3 separate regions of the Homo sapiens genome follow, and all the other regions are linked to region 3. The links are contacts of gene promoters, found by promoter capture Hi-C in blood cells and fetal thymus (Javierre and others, 2016). All regions are on one chromosome and are shown on one strand. The core of a region is centred on a gene start or on the middle of the fragment in contact, and the rest is flanking DNA. Distances in the headings are between cores, read along the strand shown. Region 1 overlaps CDK15 (cyclin dependent kinase 15). Region 2 overlaps CDK15 (cyclin dependent kinase 15). Region 3 holds the start of KIAA2012.

Region 1 (3,801 bases), core at 190-2,689, 240 kb after region 3:
AGGTCAGCTTGAAATGCCTTTTATGTCCCAAGTGTAGACTATTTTCACTAACTAGCCACAGTCCCTTCCCACATTCTTGCCATTCAACCCCTTTCCTCTCTGCCAGATACGTCTACAGGCATTTGTGAGTGGTAAAGCACTGCGGTATTAAGGTATGGTATTTTATAACCACATTTCTCAAAATTGCAGTCTGTGCTGACAAACCTCATCACCCACTCACCCTTTCATCCCTTCCAACCTGGATTCTTCATTCAACACTACAGAAGCTTCACCAATTATTGCATCCTAACATAACCAAATATGATGGTGTCTGCACAGTTCAACATCAGCCAGATCGTGGGTGACTCTTTCCAGAAAGGCTTCCCAGATCCCAGGAGTTAGACCTGTTTCCAACTCAATAAGTTTTGGGGGAACAAAATAATTCCATTGAACTAGTGCCATCTGGGCCAGGAGTTACTCAAAAACCAATGAGATCCGTTAGCCAACTCCTTATAGGGAAGCCTGAGTCCTTCCATCCCCCCTGGAATCCCTGGGACTCATTCTACTAGAAATCTGAAACAAGATAACCTCACGAGGATTCCCACCCTGTCTTCCTTGGTCACAACTCAAAATATAAGCCTCTGACTATTCCTTTTCCTCCCAACATACTCATCTCCATTCTGTTCTGTGCTTCCTCTGTTTAGCTTCATATCTATTGCTCCTCTCTCTCCCAAACATTTTCACTGTTTAGTCTCCATTCTTCAATCCTGCTTTAAAAACTACCTAAAAGCTAACCTCTGGTGAATTTCCTTTTGGCTCCTTTCCTTAAATGAGACCTTGAGCTCACTGCTTCCCTATAATATTCTCAAGTGGATGTTAGTTTTTCTATAACTTCCTCATACCTTTGACCACTGACAAGTGTCATAAGCTGCCTCCCTTTTCCCCACTACCACTTCAAAACCATTACTTCTCTACTTTTAAGTAAAAACCCCTGTCCCTTGGATTTTAATGCCATCCAGCCACATCTTCCATTACTCTTCTTTTAGCGGTCATTCACTGAACTCTCAATCCCTCTCTGTCATTCACTGAAGATGTGGGCACTTGGATCACAGCTGTTGACTCCATGACATTAGTGCCCATGAGAACAGCTCTAGCCAACCTCAGCTCCAATGATCTGCTTCTCCAATCCACTTCAGACACTAACTCCCGTGGTCACACACTAGATCTTGCCATTGTATGGAACTGTTTGTCCTCTGAAATACAAAATTCATCCCCCTATAAAAATGCTTTTGCAACGATTGTGTCATTCACAATGTTTTTTTACCATGGTTTCCCATGACTTTTCCTATGAAATCCAATGGATACTTCTTATTCCTTATCTTTGCAGCATTTGGCATCATAGACCATGCCTTCCTTCCTGAGGCACTCTCTTCTTTTGGTTCCACAATCTCCTAATTTTTCTTCTGCCCCTCTGGCTGTTCTTTTTATAGGTTCTACTTCTACTAAAATCTAATATATTGATATTCTGGCCAGGCGCAGGGACTCACACGTGTAATCCCAGAACTTTGGGAGGCCAAGGCAGGAGGATTGCTTGAGTCCAGGAGTTCGAGACCAGCCTGGGCAACATAGCAAGACCCCATCTCTATAAAAAACAAAAATAGGCCAGGCACAGTGGCTCATACCTGTAATCCCAGCACTTTGGAAGGCCAAGGCAGGTGAATCACTCAAGGTCAGAAGTTCAAGACCAGCCTGGCCAACATGGTGAAACCCCGTCTCTACTAAAAATACAAAAATTAGTCAGGTGAGGTGGTGGGTGCCTGTAGTCCCAGCTACTTGAGAGGCTGAGGCAGGAGGCTCCCTTGAACCCAGGAAGCGGAGGTTGCAGTGAGCTGAGTTTGCGCCACTGCACTCCAGCCTGGGCAGCAGAGCGAGACTCCCATCTAAAAATAAATAAATAAATAAAAATAAAATTAAAAAATAAAACATAATAAAATAATAAATAATAACTTATTGTTATTCTTAGGGTTCCGTCTTTGATCTTCTGTTATCACTCTACACATGCTCCCTTAGCTATCTTACCCACTGACAGTGCTCTAATGAACAACCGTATTCTGATGATTTCAAAATCTTTATCTCCAACTCAGATTGCCTTTCTACTTTAGGCCCACACAGTCTGGAGCTCGCCTGTACATCCCATAATCACCTCAAACTTAGCATGTCTAAAACACAATTCATGGTATCTCTCCAAAATAAATTTTTCTTTCTGATTCTCTATCACAGTGAATGGCACCATCATCCATTTTAATACTCAGATCCAGAAAAAAATATCGCTGACTCTTGTTTTTCCCGTCAGTTCCGGCTAAGTAATTGGTCTCATATCTGTCCACTTTCTCCCACCATCATCTCACATCTGTACCACTGTGGTTCTGATTAGCCTCACTGTCAAGGCTGGAACCTTAACAGACACCAGCATTCAGGGAATGAGTAGAGGGAGAGAAGTTTTCTGTGTGAGTAGGGGGAGAGAGGTAGAAGAAAACAAGGAGAAAGTAGGGTCAGGGGAATATAACATTTCAAAAAAAAAGTATTGCCCTCATCCCAATCTATTCACCACACTGTCATCAGTGTAAGCTTTATAAAAAGAAAATCTGAATTTATCACCTCTTTGTTTAAAACCATTTAATGGCGCCTGATATAAAATAGCACGACTGTGATATTGTGAAATATATATTTGATCTTCAACTAAATTCCTGACAGCCAACTCCTAAAATCCTTAGAATCTCCAAAGTGATGTCTTTTTGTAGAGTTGACTGATAGCTGGCAGACCATTGGGTAGCTTAGGATAGGGACTGGTCACTGGAAAGACCAAGGCATGATTAGGGAGGGGAGAGGGGTTGAAGGTTAAGTTGATCACCAGTGGCCAATAGTTTAATAAATCATGCCTACACAATGAAGCCTATGCAAAACCCAGAAAGATTAGGGTACAGAGACCTTCTGGATAGCTGAACTCTCATGGAGGCTTCTGGAGGGTGGCTTGCCTGGGATGGGCATGGATGCTCTGTGCCCCTTCCCACATTCACTGATGCCTCCACCTTGGAGAACTCATCCCTACTCCCACCTGCTTTGATTTGGATAACCTCTTCCTTTGTGCCTCCATATACCCACAATAAATTCCTTTATTTATTAGTGTGTCCCTCACAAATCCACAAGGTCAATGCATCAAGAGTATGACTTTTAGCTGTATTCCTGATGCTTGTAATACTGTCCACCATACCCTCCTTCTTGAAATTCTTCTTCCCTTGACTTCCATGACAGTGTGTATTTTTTTTTCAGATGCTCTACATTCCTACAAGCTGCTTCCCTTCATTCCTTCATTTCCTGTTCCTCTTCTCATCCTAAAAGGCAAAAGTCTCATCATCAGTCCTCCTCTCTTTGTGTATTTGCTCTTTTGGTTGCCTACTCCTTGTCTTCTAAACTCTATGTGCTGATGACCCTCAGATCTACACGTCGAGCTCACAGCTCCCTTCTGAGCACAGATTTCCTTTTAGGTTGCCTACTGCTCATTTCCCTTTGGAGATCCTGTCTCACCTGGGACCTCAACACGTCTGAAACAGGACTCCTCTTTCTCTCCAAACCAACTTCTTCTCCTATTTCTGTTAATAGAGCTACAATTCTCCTCGTCAGTCAAACACAAAACCAGTTATGTTTGGCCCCATCCTTTTCCTCCTCATGCTCACATTACCAAGAGGTGAACTCTTCTTTGTTACTGATTTTCACATTCCTCTCCATTCTTATTGTCACTACCATAATATCAACCTTGATTAC
Region 2 (4,007 bases), core at 298-2,797, 220 kb after region 3:
TATGGTCCGGGGCCTGCATTCTTACTGACTCACTTGTTCTGAGGCAGATCATACAGCCTTGCTCAAAGTCATGTTCTCATCACTGAACATTTACTGCATGATTATCATGCATTAGGACACCATGTTGGGAGCTAGGGATATAAAGAAGCAGGAGTGACTGTCTCTTTGCCTTGCATCAGATGACCACATGTATATTGACAGGAGACACTTGACAGCTTAAATTATGCCTCAGCATGGGTATTCAGCTGTTCCCTGATGTGCTCAAATTAAAAAGGATTCAGATTACTGAGCTTCAGGCAATGGAATGTTGGCTAAAGATGACCCCAAAACTAACTCTAGTCTTTTCTATTACATTCATCTCATCTGCTTGTTTTCTCTGTGACTAGCAGCTTGGAATATGGTATTTGGTTTTTCACTGATGGATTGTCATGGGAACAACATCACTTGAAAAAGGGCTGGTCTATGCTTTGAATTACCGATGTTTTTTTTTTTTGAGACGGAGTCTCGCTCTGTCGCCCAGGCTGGAGTGCAGTGATGCGATCTCGGCTCACTGCAAGCTCTGCCTCCCAGGTTCACACCATTCTCCTGCCTCAGCCTCCTGAGTAGCTGGGATTACAGATGCAAGCCACCACGCCTGGCTATTTTTGTTGTTGTTGTTGTTGTATTTTTAGTAGAGACGGGGTTTCACCGTGTTGGCCAGGATGGTCTCAATCTCCTGACCTCGTGATCTGCCCACCTCGGCCTCCCAAAGTGCTGGGATTTCAGGCATGAGCAACCGCGCCTGGCCTTGAATGACCAATTTAAAGCCCCAGTTTTTAGTTAAGATGTATGAAAATAAAGTCTTTCGGAGTATAAAGCCAAAACAGCTCAGACTTTGGATGAAGCCAGCACCATGAGTTCCCCGGTAGGCATTACCTTAGTATTTTTTTTTTTTTAAAGAATAATCATAAAAGCCCATAGACAGTTATATATGGGAGACAGAGTAACATTGTTCTTGTGAAATACTAATAAAACACTAGTAGCTTTCATTACACTACTACAGTATAACTTTTCTTAGAAGCATATCTCACTATAACTCTTTTTAGAAACATCTCTTACAGAAAGAGTCTAGCGAATCCATCTGTAAAATGCTGGTTATAGATACTGGCCCAATTATTATGGCAGGGAGTCAATTGCCCAACAATGACTGAATATAATCAATGAAGAATCCAGAATCTTAGTGTCTATCAGCTTGTTGACTAGGAATCTGGCTGAGAGATGTACTTTTTAGCATCTGTTAAGCTTGTCTTTAAACAAAAGACAGTGAAGTGCTATTTTCCCTCATATAATAAAAAAATCATGCCACCCAGTAAAATCTTCCTTCTTTGATCCATTCCCTAAACAAACTGAAAAGTGACTGAGAGGATTATAGGCTTTTCCTATCAACCACCCTGAGCCCGAGGGAACACTAAGAATCCTGGAATCCATTTTGAAAAACCAACTGGACTAATTCTTCTTTTGTGGGAGAAGGCCAGGGGACAAGAAACTAATTCTTCTTTTTTTAACCTACCATCTTATGTATTTGCACAGATGCATGTGTAAACAAGTGGGTGTGAGTCACATGTACCCATACATCCTCTGTTGGCTGGCAAAGTGCAGTGAAAAGAAAGCAAAGATAATGAAGAGAAAACAATAGAAGAAATAGGTGACAACCACTATCATGTTTTCTCTAAGGTGAAAGTTACCAGATGGTTGGTTACTTTGTATGATATTTAACTAAAGCCAACAAAATGGATACTAAAAAAAGTTTTTTTAATCTTATGTTCAAAGCTTTAAGCTTGAGATTTTAAAAGTTTAAACAAAAATTCAATATACTTTATTTGGAAATTTGATCTCAGTTTCTATTTGCAAGTTATTGAATTCTTTTTCACTTGAGAAAATTACTAAATCTCTCCTTCACTGTCTGGGAAACTGAAAACCAAAAATTGTTGTTTTGCTCCCTCCCTGAAGGCTCTTAAAAGGCAGCCAGTGAGTGCTATGTTTCAAACCACAGTGGTCTGAAGGGGCTGTTTATCTGCCTTTGTTGGAATGGAAACTAAAAGCATTTTGATTAATGGATTCAAAGTTTGCATAGTTTATTCTGATTTTAGAACTAAATCCAGGATTATTTATGAAAAACACTTATTTAAAATTAGTTTTTAAAATTGATCAGAAAGTGGTGACAGCTATTATTTAGATGTAAACACACACACTACAGGCACTTCAGAAAAATAGTAAAATAGAGACTCAGGACTTCTCAATGTGTTTTTATTCCTAAGAGTGAGATCTCAGGATAAATATAGAACAAATTATGGTTAGAGGTTAGGAGATTTAGAATGGACCCATTGCTTTCAGGGATGCACTTCTGACATCAAATATCACAGATTCTGAAGTGTAGCTTTCCTGTTTTCATCTGTGTAGGCTACGTTTAGTAAAACACAAATTCAGGAACTATTTATAATCTGTATAATTTTCTAACCTGCTTATAGGCAACAAATGTGAAAATAGACAAATGGGAATAAATAAAACTAAAAAGTGTCTTCAGAGCAAAGGAAACAATCATTAGAGTGAAGAGACAACCTACGATGGGAGAAAATATTTGCAAGCCATACATTTGATAAGGGGTTAATATCAAAAATATATAAGGAACTCAATAGCAAGAAGACAACCCCATTAAACAGTGGGCAAAGGGCCGGGCACGGTGGCTCACGCCTGTAATCTCAGCACTTTGGGAGGCTGAGGCAGGTGGATCACCAGAAGTCGAGAGTTCGAGATCAGCCTGGCTAACATGGTAAAACCCTGTCTCTACTAAATATACAAAATTAGCTGGGTGTGGTAGTGCACACCTGTAATCCCAGCTACTTGGGAAGCTGAGGCAGGAGAATTGCTTGAACCCAGGAGGTGGAGGTTGCAATGAGCCAGGATCAAGCCACTGCATTCCAGCCTGGGCAACAGAGTGAGACTCGGTCTCCAAAAAAAAAGTGGGCAAAGGACTTGTTGTGGTTTAAATGTTTGTATTCTCTTCATAATTCATGTTGAAACTTTATCCCCAATGCAACAGTATTAAGAGGTGGGGCCTTTAGCCACCTTTAGCGTGTGATTAGGACACAAGGACAGAGATGAATGCCCTTATAAAGGAGCTAGAGGGAATCAGTCAGGCCCGTTTGCTCTTCTACCCTTCCACCATGTAAGGACACAGCATTTGCCCTCTCTGGAGGATGCAGCGACAAGGCACTAACTTGGAGACCAAATCTCTCACTGGACAACAGCCTACAGTGCCTTGATCTTGGACTTTCCAGCCTCTAGAACAGTGAGAAATAAATTTCTGTTCTTTTTTTTTTTTTTTTTTTTTTTTTTGAGATGAAGTCTCACTCTGTTGCTCAGGCTGGAGTGCAGTGGCACGATCTCGTCTCACTGCAACCTCCTCCTCCTGGGTTCAAGCAATTCTCCTGTCTCAGCCTCCCAAGTAGCTGGGACTACAGGTGCACACCACCACGTTCGGCTAGTTTTTGTATTTTTAGTAGAGATGGGGTTTCACCATATTGACCAGGCTGGTCTTGAACTCCTGACCTCAGGTGATCCACCCACCTTGGCCTCCCAAAGTGCTGGGATTACAGGCATGAGCCACTGCGCCCGGCCAATTTCTGTTCTTTATAAAATGCCCACTCTAAGGGATTTTGTTATGGTAGCAGGAATGGACTAAGAACCTCAATACACATTTCTCAAAAGATGACCTACAAATGGCCAAGAGATATATGAAAAAATGCTCAATATCATTAGTCATCAGACAAATGAAGTCTAGGACCATGGTGAGATATTGCCTCATAACTATTATCAAAAAGATGAAAGAGGTGTTGGCAAGAATGTGGAGGAAAGGGAGCATTTGCACACTGATGGTGGGCATGCAAATAGCACAGCCATTATGGAAGATGGTATGGAGGTTCCTCAAAATATTAAAAATGGAACTACCATATGATCCAGCAATCCCA
Region 3 (3,624 bases), core at 406-2,905:
ACCTCCAGTTCAAGTAATCCTGCAATGAGAAGCAGCCACTTTGACGGAGCCACTGTGGAAGACCTTTCTATAGCAAATACTGCTTGTGCAAAGCCTTCGGCATTTTTTTAGTTACTGATTTTCTCTGAACTGTTCACATGGTGTTATGGAACACAATTGCTCTTCTTAGCAACTGCCTTTTCTCTCCACATTTCAAAATTAGTAGAACCCAGGGCATGGTTCTATTTCACCCCATACAACTTTCAGGAGAGTCATGTATGGCTGGAGGATTAACTCAGCTTGTATGTAGGTTACAGGCCAGTTAAAGTTTCCTGGTATGCAAGTAAGTGGTCAGAATTATTAAGGGCAGCAGATAACTTTGAAATTAGACCTGGACTAGCTGGCAGTTTAAATAGGAGCATTCCAAGCCACCACCACTTCAGCTGTACGTGGGGAGAATTTCTATACATTCCAGATGCTATGTAACATTACCTAATTTGGCTATTTAGGGGCCTATAAAGCAGTTACATATCTTGTAGGTAAGAAAATGCCATTGGCCATACAGGTCCTTTGAAACTTTATATGCCGTTTAACACAGCAAAGGTCAAATATCATGACAAAGTACCATGACAATGGAAATCTCTGTATGACCCCCAAATTTGCAAAGTATCCCCAATAGGTTTCTTATCCCTGGCAGGATTCAAGTGAAATAAAAATCTAGTATAACAAGGGAATTTTGCCACCTCTTTAAAATCTTCTAAAATGAGGTGGGTTTTTTTTTGGCCTATATTAAATATGAGTCCTGTGGGTTGAATTCCAGAAAGTTCAAGGAAGCCATTGAAATGGCATGAACACACACAGCATTTCAACTGCAGAGCACGACTTCCAAAAACCAAACAACCATCAGTTTGCCTAGAACCCAGGTGGAAATTCTGGTCTTGCACCAAACCATCCAAATTCCAGACAATCTGGAATCTCCTTTGGTCCAAGCAAAGACAGCTACAAGGGGAAAGATGAGGGCCTCAGGGGCAATCTCGGTGTGTCAGGAAAATGATGTTATTTTCTTGAGTTTCATGAAGGAGGAAGGAAGATCTTCCAGTGACCCCGCCACCTCACTAACAACACAAACCAAGACACACATGGTTTACCTCCCAAGTGGAAACATAGAGCATTCCTCTCCCACCTCCAAAATGTGCCTTTCTTCAGCTGTGGGACTCACCTCTGGTTCAAAGTAGACTTCTAACTTCTGTTTGTCCTGGCCCAGCTTCCCGTGGCCCCGGCTCAGGAGGGAGAGCGTGAACATGTTTCCCTCTGACCACCCCTTCTCAAGGGCAGTCCATCTTGGTTTTGAAGGCTGAAATCTGGTCACACCTCAAGATTTCCAGAGCTCACAGCAAGCCCAAGAAGACCACAAACACAGGGCCTTTTATTAAATACATTTTTCCCTCTCGCAGCAGCTTCTTAGTAACAACCAGCCACACAGTTTAGACAGTGTGTGTCTTTGTGGAGAGAAAAAATAAACCGCACAGCCAGCCTCCTCAAGCCCTGGATTGTCTACTCTCTGGGCGACCTGTCTCTCCCCTTCTCCTGAGCTCTTGTTGTCCCTTGGTCCCGGTTGCTCTGTTACCAGCCGTGTGCATCTACAGATCTCGGCCACAGCACCATCCTTCTTGTCTGAGCGGAGGTTGTTTCCTGGTTGCTATGGCAGCACAGGGAAATGAAGTCCCTTAAACTAACCCAGGCAAGGCAGAGACGGGTGCCGGGTGCAGTGTGCATTCCCCGGGGATGGGGGTGGGGGTCAAATGGACACTGAAGGGACCAGGCTCAGGTTGCAAGTCCCAGTTGCATGGGGTGGGGGACTTGTTGGGGTACTTTTTCTGTTATTGTTCTCATCTTGTTTTTAGAGAGCGTCTTCCCCTCTCTCCTGATATGTGAGCCTGTCACTGTCAACTAACCATTAACAGAGCCAGGGTGTAATCTAGGTCACCTAAAACCACCTGTGACTTTTTCCTTGGCTGAGCTCCATCATCCCCTCAACTGGACACGAGACCTCATTATGGTAGTTGCTGCTTTGCCTGAGCGGGAGACACTGGGATTCTCTAGCTTCCTTTGCATACCTGGTTCTCAACTGGGCAAGCTATCCCCTGATGGGGGTGCTCTGGAAATGTGGGTGGGGGACATTTTGGTTGTTGCAATGATTGGGGGTCTTGCTGGCATTGATCAAGCAGAGGCCCCAGATGCTAAATGTTCTACATGGTGTGAAATTCCCACATAGTGATGAACTGTCCCACTAGAATGCCAGGAGCACCTGCTTTGAGAAGCACTGTGTAGCCTGGGATGCTTGGGTCTCTTTAACAGTGACATTGTGACGAGCACAGACAGGAGGGAAGAGGGTCAGGAAACAAAAAGACCCCTTTGCTGGGGATCTAGGAACCTGCTCAAGCCTGGAAAAGCAAGCTGCCTGTTAGCTGTCAGCTGAACTACCCTGGCAGTCTTGTGGGAGTGCCCACTGCTGGCCTATATGAAGAAGCACAACAGGCTACAAGCCCACTTACCTTTTTGATCTTCCTATGTGGCACTTTCCCCTCCCCCTCTGACCCCTCCACCCCCAACCAAGTTCAAGTCTCCTGAGAAAGAAATAGAGGTTCTGTTGTAAAATAAAATAGGGTTTATTAGGGGGAATCAAGACAGCGAATGAGTGAATGCAGAGGCTCCAAACAGAATTTAATCAAAACCACAATGAGATACCACTTCACACCTACTAAGATGGCTATTATTAAAAAACAAAAACAAAAACAGAAAATAACAAGTATTTGGTGAAGATACGGAGAAATTGAAAACCTTGTGCATTGCTGTTGGAAATGCAAAATGGCGCAGCCTCTGTAGGAAATGGTATGACAGTTTCTAAGAAAATTAAACAGAATTACCGTATCACCAGTAATTCCACTTCTGGGTCTGTATACCTAAAGGAGGTGAAAGCAGGGTCTCAAAGAGATATTTGTATACTCATATGCAGAGCAAAACTGTTTATAAGAGCCAAAAGGTGGAAGTAACTCAAGTGTCCATCGACAGATGAATGAATCAACAAAATGTAGCATATGCATACAATGCAGTATTATTCAGCCTTAAGAAGGAAGGAAATTCAGTTGGTCACCATGGCTCATGCCTGTAATCCCAGCACTTTGGGAGGCCGAGGTGGGCGGATCACCTGAGGTCAGGAGTTCGAAACCAGCCTGGCCAACTTGATGAAACCCCGTCTGTACTAAAAATAAAAATTTAGCCAGGTGTGGTGGCACACGCCTGTAGTCCCAGCTACTTGGGAGGCTGAGGCAGGAGAACCGCTTCAACCTGGGAAGCGGAGGTTGCAGTGAGCCGAGATCATGCCACTGTACTCCAGCCTGGGCAACAGAGTGAGACTCCATCTCAAAAAAAAAAAAAAAAAAAAAAAAGGAAGGAAATTCAGACATATGCTACAACACGCATGTACCTTGAAGACATTACACTAAACAAGATAAGCCAATCATGAAAGAACAAACATTGTATGATTTCTCTTATGTGAAGTACTTAGAGTGGTCTGATTCACAGAGACAGAAAGTTGAATGGTAATTGACAGGGGCTGTCAGGGAGAGGGGAATGGAACATCAG

What was found. Contacts are between HindIII fragments. The CHiCAGO score rates a contact against its expected background, and 5 or more counts as called.
Region 1: a fragment that was not itself captured here is called in contact with the fragment with the promoter of KIAA2012 in region 3 in 1 of 17 cell types (endothelial precursors); the score reaches 7.0 in endothelial precursors.
Region 2: a fragment that was not itself captured here is called in contact with the fragment with the promoter of KIAA2012 in region 3 in 2 of 17 cell types (M2 macrophages and M0 macrophages); the score reaches 5.2 in M2 macrophages.

Annotation. Positions count from the first base shown.
Region 1 is chr2:201,827,946-201,831,746 of GRCh38, reverse strand. All of the region lies in intron 6 of CDK15 (cyclin dependent kinase 15), which reads right to left. Among named protein-coding and RNA genes, the nearest start is that of CDK15, 23 kb to the right of the region's middle. The HindIII fragment of the contact is 2,341 bases long and covers 269-2,609 here.
Region 2 is chr2:201,850,660-201,854,666 of GRCh38, reverse strand. All of the region lies in intron 9 of CDK15 (cyclin dependent kinase 15), which reads right to left. Among named protein-coding and RNA genes, the nearest start is that of CDK15, 46 kb to the right of the region's middle. The HindIII fragment of the contact is 528 bases long and covers 1,284-1,811 here.
Region 3 is chr2:202,071,286-202,074,909 of GRCh38, reverse strand. It overlaps KIAA2012, which reads right to left and starts at 1,655. Exons shown (of 24, transcript NM_001277372.4): 1 at 1,199-1,655; 2 at 1-19. The coding sequence starts at 1,282. The HindIII fragment of the contact is 5,257 bases long and covers 1-3,624 here.